Linked DNA regions of Homo sapiens: all the other regions are linked to region 3. Evidence: promoter capture Hi-C in human tissues and cell types (Jung and others, 2019). All regions are on one chromosome and are shown on one strand. The core of a region is centred on a gene start or on the middle of the fragment in contact, and the rest is flanking DNA. Distances in the headings are between cores, read along the strand shown.

The links. The method cuts DNA at HindIII sites, captures the fragments that hold promoters and counts their contacts. A contact is called where the count stands out against the background at its distance.
Region 1: the fragment with the promoter of NPAS1 here is called in contact with the fragment with the promoter of FKRP in region 3 in 3 of the 25 tissues and cell types used here (H1 embryonic stem cells, liver and stomach).
Region 2: a contact is called between a fragment that was not itself captured here and the fragment with the promoter of FKRP in region 3, in 1 of the 25 tissues and cell types used here (bladder).

The regions. Positions count from the first base shown.
Region 1 is chr19:47,018,498-47,021,509 of GRCh38, forward strand. NPAS1 (neuronal PAS domain protein 1) reads left to right here and starts at 1,340. Exons shown (of 12, transcript NM_002517.4): 1 at 1,340-1,500; 2 at 2,509-2,672. The coding sequence starts at 2,551. RefSeq lists a silencer at 1,277-1,336. The HindIII fragment of the contact is 24,576 bases long and covers 1-2,356 here.
Region 2 is chr19:47,105,108-47,107,812 of GRCh38, forward strand. All of the region lies in intron 2 of ZC3H4 (zinc finger CCCH-type containing 4), which reads right to left. Among named protein-coding and RNA genes, the nearest start is that of ZC3H4, 7.3 kb to the right of the region's middle. The HindIII fragment of the contact is 3,689 bases long and covers 1-2,705 here.
Region 3 is chr19:46,744,404-46,747,347 of GRCh38, forward strand. FKRP (fukutin related protein) reads left to right here and starts at 1,654. Exons shown (of 4, transcript NM_024301.5): 1 at 1,654-1,687. It overlaps STRN4 (striatin 4), which reads right to left and starts at 2,047. Exons shown (of 18, transcript NM_013403.3): 1 at 1,746-2,047. The coding sequence starts at 2,027. RefSeq lists silencers at 1,593-1,822, 2,033-2,082, 2,093-2,242, 2,283-2,382, 2,423-2,472. The HindIII fragment of the contact is 7,098 bases long and covers 1-2,944 here.

The sequences.
Region 1 (3,012 bases), core at 90-2,589, 270 kb after region 3:
GCCCATCTCAGAATCTTGCTATAAAATAAAGTATTAGCAAAAAACAAGCACTCCCTTAAGTGTTAACTATGAGGATCATGAATGAGTTTGTGTGTTGTGAGCAAATGCACACGGGTGTTTGTGTGTGCCTCAGTTTCCCCATCTGCCCAACCAAAGGCCAGCGCGTGCTCCCTGCAAGCCCCTGACTGTATGCCTCTTCTAAGACTCCCTGCTCCATTTTCTTTTTCTTTTCTTTTCTTTCGAAATGGACTCTCCTTCTCTGACCCGGGCTGGAGCGCAGTGGCGGGATCTCGGCTCACTGCAACCTCCGCCTCCCAGGTTCAAGGGATTTTCCTGCCTCAGCCTCCCGAGTAGCTGGGATTACAGGCGCCCACCACCACACCCGGCTAATTTTTGTATTTTTAGTAGAGACAGGGTTTCACTATGTTGGCCAGGCTGGCCTTGAACTCCTGACCTCGGGTGATCCAACCGCCCTGGCCTCCCAAGGTGCTGGGATTATAGGTGTAAGCCACCGCGCCCGGCCCCAGCTCCATTTTCTTTCCCCATGTTAAGGTCATGTAGAGGCTTTTAAGTGCCTGGAGACCCCCATGCCAGGGAGGACCCTGAGAACGGGAAGTGGGGGCTGCATGGAGAGAAGGAGCTAGGGGAACTGTAGGACCTCCTATCAGACTGGGGAAGGCCTGGCTTGGACGCCTGGGTTCCCGTCCTCTGTGCGAGGTACTACAACCCCTGAGTTCCCATTTATGATCTAATGGGGAGCTTGGATGTAAGGGTTCCCGTCCCTGCGGCGGGGGATGGAGATAAGACGCCAGGATCCTGGTCTCTGGAGCTCCTTAGAGAGCTGGATCCTGGTCCCTGACGAGGGAGGTGTATGTCCCCCTTTTAAGGCGGGTTGGGTTTGGATGCGAAGTCCCAGCCCTGTGGGGGGAGAGTGTGCTGACACTCAGGAGTTCTCTCCCGGAAAGGGAGGGTCTCGAATTCTGGATTTGTGTCCCTGGAGGAAGCACTGACGTGAGTCTTCACTCGTACATGGGGCTCGGCTGCAGGGTACCTGTCTTGTCCCGAGGGGCTGCTGGGGCACTAACTGCCTCCTGAAGGGGTGTAGACAGTGCCCGGACTCCGCTGTTCCCCTTTTGGAGTGGGGTAGCTCCGATCCGAGGTGCTACATTCTGACCCCCGACGTTACCGTGGGGCAAGGGAACTCGGACCCCAGGGTAGCTTGGCCCCCTACCAGGGAAAGGCGAGCAGGGCGGGTCCGGGGGCGGAGACGCGGCGGGCGGGGCTCCGGCAGACCCCGCCCCCGCCCGCAGCGCTGGTCGCGCGTCTCCAAGTCTGCGAGGCCGAGGTGGGCGCCGAGAGCTGGGCGCCACAGCCCGCGCGTCCCGCTGCGCCCCGCGCGCCCCGGGGTCTATGGAGCTGCCCCTCCGCGCCGCCCGGCCGGCCCCACGCCGCGCCCGGAGCCTGCTCTGCGGCCAAGTAATCGGACTGGCGGTCCTGCGGGTAGGGGAAGCTTGCGGGCTGGCAGGAGGGGGACTTCTGGGTCCCAGAGGAATGGGGGGCTGGAACTCCAGTGTCCTGGGGGATAGGGGGTGGGACGAGGGTATCCCGAGCCTGGGGGAAGGGGCGCACGGATGTTTGAGTCCTGGAGAAATCTGGGGTTGGGAGACCTGGACACGGGGGTCTGGGGCATCTGGACACCTGGCTGGGAGGTTTGGGGGCGGCCTGGTTCCTGGGGTTAGGGGGTGTTCTGAACGCCTGGTCCTGGAGGAATGAAGACCTAACTGAAAACGTTAGGGGATCAGGAGACCAGGACACCTGGGCCCCGAGTGTCGGGTCAATCCTGGGGGCGTCCTGGGGCAGAGGCTGCGGCGGCTGCGTCCGGGGCTGGGGCTCGCGCGCCGGGGTCTTCAGGGAGGAAGTTGTGGTCGTGGGGATGTGGCGGTCCGAACACGTGGCGCCATCCCGAGAGGCTGGGGGGATCCCTGGGCAGGACACAGGATGGGGGTCCCTGCCCTCTGCCCCCTGCCTCCTTAGCCCAGCCGGGAAAACAGGGTGCAGATCCGGGGAGTCAGACACCGGGGATGGGCTTGGGGGGCGGGTCCTCGGGGCAGAGGGCTCCGGGGGCTGGGGCGTGCGTGCCTGGCCCGGGAGGCGCCCGCCCCCCGCCCGGCTTGGGCATGCTTGGCACGCAGCGCGCGGGCCGGTTCGATCCGTATGCGCGCCGCGTGCGCCCATTGGTATGCGGGAGCCGGCCCGGCGCGGGCGTGAGGCGGGCGCGCTGGCGGGCGGCGCGGGGGAGGCGGCGGCGGGGCACGTCCTCACCCGGAGCGCCAGCCCCGGGCCGGCTAGGGTGGGAGCTGAGGCCTCCAGGTAGGGGAAACTGAGGCATCATCCAGGCCCCCCCCCCCCCAGCTCCTTGCTGGGACCCTGAGCCCTGCACGGATCTCAGTTTCCCTAGAAGGTCTCCCGAGGGCACTAAGCGTTGCCCCTGGCCCCCTCCCGCTGCAGGAGACTCGGGGCTCGGAGCCCGCCTGAGCGAGCCCCCCGGAGATGGCGGCCCCCTATCCCGGCAGTGGCGGCGGAAGCGAGGTCAAATGCGTGGGAGGCCGCGGCGCCAGCGTCCCCTGGGACTTTCTACCCGGGCTGATGGTCAAGGCGCCGTCCGGACCGTGGTGAGCAAAGCCCCGCCCCCCTGGCCGCGGGCCCCCCCCCGGGTCCAATTCACACCCGATGTTCTGTCCCCGTGCCAAGGGGCAGTTCACACCCAGCTCCCTGACCCGCCCCTTAGGGCTAGAAGGTCTTACCTTGAGTTAACTACCGTCCTGAGCCCGGTCCCCTGCGTTCTGCTTCTAGTCCCGGTCCTCAGAATTCACGCCCAACATCTTTAATCTCTCGCCCTTCCTCCTCCTTCCCACCAGAATTGACACTCGAGGTTCTGTCCCTGGGTCGGAGTGTAAAATCCACACTCCGGTCTGCTCCCACCTCCAGAGATGTGGAATCCACTCCCAACGT
Region 2 (2,705 bases), core at 171-2,670, 360 kb after region 3:
CCAACTTTAAATGGAATATCTATATTCCCTCCTCATTCCTTCCCACCACAAAAAAAATGACAATGGCTGCTGTGCAGGCATACCAGACAGTGCATACCATATCACGTGGTGGGCAGCAACTTTCTACTCAACTCTGCTGCTGTAACGTAGAAGCAGCCACTGATGATATAAATGAATGAGTATGGCTGTGTGCCAATAAACTTTACCTACTGGCCAGGCGCGGTGGCTCATACCTGTAATCCTATCACTTTGGGAGGCCAAGGAGGGTGGATCACTCGAGGTCACGAGTTCAAGACCAGCCTGGCCAACACGGTGAAACCCCATCTCTACTAAAAACACAGAAATTAGCTGAGCATGTGGTGTGCGCCTGTAATCCCAGCTACTCAGGAGGCTGAAGCAGGAGAATCCCTTGAACCAGGAGGCAGAGGTTGCAGTGAGCCAAGATCATGCCACCGCACTCCAGCCTGGGTGACAGAGCAAGATTCTGTCTCAAAACAACACAAACCAACAAAAAAACACTTTACCTACAAAAACAGGCTGGGTGGGCTGGCTTTGGCCCGAGAATCATAGTTTGCCGACCCCTAGCCTGGATGCAACGGCTTTCACACTTTTTGACACTGACCCACATCTGCTTCTTTGCATTTCTCCCAAACAAAAGTTTCCAGAAGCCACATTTAAATGCATTCTGCTTTTTCTCTCCTCTTCCATTTCCTTGGTTTTCCAATGCAAAAGAAAAAGATCAATAATTGGACTTCATATCCCACTAGTGGCTATACCCCACAGTCTGAAAAATAGCACACCAGATCCACCACAGTATAATGGTATGTATAGAGATGGGGTCTGAGTACCAGCCACCCCGGGTTCTAACTCTGCCTGCAGCACACACTTGTTTTGTGACCTGGGACAAGTGACTTCACCTCTCTGTTTTGGTTTCTCCTCAAACAGCAGAGGTAAAGGTTAAATGAGCTAATGCATGAGAAGCACTCAGAAGGGCTCTGGCAGATAATCTTTGACCTTCAGGTCAATTGTGCACAAATGGCACTGTTGCCCCTTCGGAAAGACAAAGACACTGACTTAGGAGATGAACTCAAGAATCACATCCAGTTTGCCTAACTCCCCCAACCATAGCTGTCCACCACCCATCACTCTCAGCAGAGGGCCAATCCCGTGTGGAGAGAACATGGCAGCACCCAGGCAGACATGGTGGCTTATACCTGTAATCCCAGCACTTTGGGAGGCTGAGGTGGAGGATCATTGAAGCCAAGAGTTCGAGGCTGCAGTGAGCTATTAATACTATGAGGTGCCACTGCATTCCAGCCTGGGCAACAGAGCAAAACCCTGTCTCAATAAAAGAGAAAAAACAAAGCTTTTGGCTCTGGAGTTCACTCTATCCTTTCTGGGACAACTGACAGGCATGACCAGGAACCTGATGGGCCTGCCTGTGATCTAGCCACTGAGCCTAACCTTCAAATTAATTAAGGCATCTGCTTTCCAAGTGCATATTAGTAAGCTGCAAGCAGCAGCAGCAACCCTTTATCGTGGCCAGAAACTGTAGAAGGTAGGCCAGACACAGAGGAAGGGAATACGAAGCCTGGTAAAGGCAGTAACAACCCTAGCCCGACTCTAAATAAAGTCTTCATGATAGAAGGGTTCTCTGCACACTCAGAAAACTCTTGGGCTCCAAGAAAAGCCGGGGAGGAACTCAGTTACTGAATGAACAAAACCTTATCTGACTCAGCCAGATCCCAAAGGAGTGAAGAATCCTGGAGCTGGATGAGACCTTGTTCATTCCCCTCTGGAGAGAGTAAAGGACTTGCGTGGGGAAACTGACTAGTTTGCAGTGGTATGAGATTCTAGATCCCTGGCTTCCCAGTTCTCAGAAGCCCTACTGAGACTACAGCACTGACTCGGACTCTAATTGCAAAAGATGAACACAGGAGGTACAGTCAGCATTAAGCTCCAGACAGTATGACCATTTGAGCATCCATAAAAAGACACTGAGCAAGCAAGAAATATCTTAAGATGGCTTCCACTTAGTGTCAACCCCAATTGGCTCCCTGCAATTAAATAAGCTGACCAGAACCCTAAGAGATGAAAGATAAATGCACTTCCTTCAAAAATAGATGTTATTCTTACTTCTGTTTATACACCAACTGTAAAAGTTCTGTTTCAAATTCTTCTCTAGTAGGGAAAGCAGGAAGATTCACTGAATGCTGGCATTGTGTGGGTGTCCCCAAATGCACTCATTTGACCACAAGGACCCTGAGAAGTGGGCATTTTATACTCGATGCCTACTGCACACTGCCGGGGAGAAGCCAGGCCTGAACAGTTTTATCTGGCTCCAAAGTCCACAGTCTTCCTCCACATCCTGTTGCCACCTCCGACATTCAAAAAGATGTCACCACTTGCCTGACAAACAGGGCACTGAGTCACCTATTCACACAGATGCGAAATGGCAAAAAAAATACACGAGAAAGATCCTTTATGCAGACCAGTTTGGCCAGAAGCAGCAAACTATGCTCTCAGCAAATAATCCTGCGTTCTGTTAAGAAAAAAAAAAAAAAAAAGTAACAGGACACAACTAAATCTAGCACCAACCAAGAGGCCGTATCTTCATTTTTGTCAACAACTACTAAGAGTCACCCCAATGGGTGATGTGCCAGAAATCTATTTAAAATAAACTGCCTATCGCACCTCATTACATC
Region 3 (2,944 bases), core at 404-2,903:
GACAGGATCTCACTCTTTTGCCCAGGCTGGAGTGCAGTGGTGCAATCATGGCTCACCGCAGCCTCAACCTCCGGGGTTTAAGCAATCCTCCCACCTCAGCCTCCTGAGTAGCTGGGACTACAGGCGCATGTCACCACACCCGGCTAATTTTTGTACTTTTTTGTAGAGATGAGGTCTTGCTATGTTGGCCAGGCTGGCCTCGAACTCCTGGGCTCAAGGGATTCTCCCACCTCAACCTCCCCAAGTGTTGGGATTACAGGCGTGAGCCACCGCACCCCATCCCTACCGACACAATTCTCATCAGCTATTTATTTGGGTACCAGCTTCCTACTAGATAGCAAACGGCAAATCGGAAGGGGAAAGGTGGGCTGCTACAAGCAGGTAATGACAATTTCTGCTAATAATAACCCAGTCCAAGAATCTTCAGACTTCCAGCGGGCCATTCCTGATCCCTTCAAATCCGGACATCTCCATGGTCCTCCAGTCACTGCCAATGGACCTGACGCTCCACGAGGTCACAAACCCTAGCCCAACTCCTCAGACTCTTCCATTCAACATCCCTGTCCCAAGCTACCCCAAAAACCACGGGGTCTTTTCCCAAGACTTCCACAAACATATCCCCTTCCCCCCAACCCCAGTCTACCCCCGTTCCGAGATGCCTCCTCATGTTGCCTTCGGGCTCTACAAAATTCTCCCCCCTAAAGCATCACCCCAGGGTAACCCCTAACTCGTCCTCATTGGCACCATCCCAGGACCCTCACCTCCATACTGGACATGCCCAACACCCCACACTCCAGTTCAGGGCTCTCTACCTACATCCTACAACACACGTGCCATCTCAGTGCCATCGCGCCCACTCCTGCACACCCCCAAAGTGGAACTTCCACTCTTAAGCTCTCCCATCCAGGCTCCTAGGGTACATTCCCTGCTCTGTCCACACTTCCACTCCAAAGAACCCTTCCCTGCACTGTGCAGCCACACATGCCCGGGATCCCCAAAGTTTCTCCTCAGAGGGGAAGGCACACACCTTCATCCTGGACCCCTTGAAACCCTCCTCCCACCCCTCGGGTCCTTACACAGCCCTCCTTCCGTGCCCACCGTCCAGTCGCCCCGAAACACACCGATCCCAGGTTCCCGACTTCCTCTCCCTAAATCCTCCCGGTTCCCCATCTGGACCCGCTCTTTCCCAGCGGGTCCCAAGTTCCCCCCTTGGACGCTCCCACCTCCAACCTGCACCTGGCTAGGGCCATGGTCGGGGTCGGGGTCGGGAGTCCCTCGGCGCCCGGCAAGCTTCTGCTTACTCCCACAGGAGACCACTCAGGTCTCCCAGACCCCTCCAGCTCCTCTCCACACCCTTTCCCGAGTTCTCTTAGCCTCCCCTCCAGGGCTCGAGTCGCCTCTCTCAGGAGCCCCGCGGCCAGCGTGCTCAGTCCCAGTCCCAGTCCCACTCCCAGCTGGTTGTGGTCCCTCCGCCCCTTTCTCTCGGCCGGTCCCGGTGATCCCTCCCACCCCCGGTCCCTCCACTCCCACCTCGGGCCGTCCCGGTCCCGTCCCACCCCGGAGTGCCCTCAGGACACCCCTCGGACGGCCCCTCACTCGCCCTCCGGGACCGTCGCGGTCCCCTCCCGCCCCCCCGCCGGCCGTCCCGGCGGCCATTGCTCCAAGATGGCGGCGGCGGCGGCAGCGGGTGAGGCCGGGCCGGGCCGGGCCGGGTTGGGGGTCGGGGGTCCCGGGACAGCGCTCACCTGTAACTCGGCGCGCTCGGCCTCCCAGCGGGCTTTCTCGGCTTCGAAGCGCGCCCACTCGTGCTGGATAAAGTGCAGGATCCCCGGCAGGCTCAGGGGCTCCGGGCCCGCCGTGGGCCCGGGGCTGCCTCCGCCGCCGCCTCCCTTACCTGCCGGGCCCGGCCCGGGGGCAGGGGCGGAGACCGGGGCCGCCCCAGTGGGGCCAGGGCCCGCGCCTGAGCCGAGCGGACGGCAGGAGGAGGCGGCGGCGGCGACCGCGGCGGCCGCTCGCTCCTCCATCATGGAGGCCCCGGGGCCGGCCTGCGCGCCCGCTGTGCCTCGCGCGCCTGCGCGGCCGCGCCAACACCCCCCCCCCTCCCCCGCCGCAACCACCGCGCGCGCGCCCGGCGGGGGACAGTAGGAAGGGGGGCCGGCGGCGAGCGCGAGCCTCGCCCACCCGGGTCTACACCGAAGGGTAGCGTGCCCGCGCGGGGGCCGGCGGGTGGGAGATCGCGCCCCGAGGAGGGCGAGGGAGACCCAGGCCCCGCGCGACGGTCCCCCTCGCTGGAGTGAGACTGAGGAAGGGGCCGCTTTCTGCCCCCCTCCTCCCACTTCGCCCCAGAGAAAGAGCCTTACCCCTTCCACACCCAAACACCACTCTCCTGGACAATTACTTTTACTCTGAGAGAAAGGGCGACCAGCAGTGGCCCCATCCTCTCTGATTGCCGGCCAGGTTGGTTGTCATGGTAACCCTTCCCCAGCGGTGGGGGCGAGGTGGTGGGGAGCAGCCTTCCCCTCGCTTCCACCTTTGTGGTTATGGAGCCCCAAACCTCTTAGGACTCTGCACCAGGAGAAGGTTGCTAAGGTAACCTAAGTGTCCGTGGTGGTCCTTCTGCTCCTATCCTCATTGATTACTATGGCAACCTCCCCCCCACCTAGCATTCAGGTAGAAAGGACCCCAGCCCCAAGGACACTGATCTCTAAGAGAAGCACCTCTTCCCCAGCCCCTCCCCCATAGCCACCTAGTTGGCATTACCATGGTAACCGTCTTCCCCTTCCCATCGTGGGAGGCCCATGCACCAAACTAACCAGGTGTTTTTATTTAGAGGAGATGCTCTGCTGAGGGGCAGTTGCTATGGTTACAGGGCCTGGACCTTCCTCCGGAAGGTGAGAAACAGGCAAGTTCAAGGCCTGGTTACTATGATAATAGAGCAGCCCCC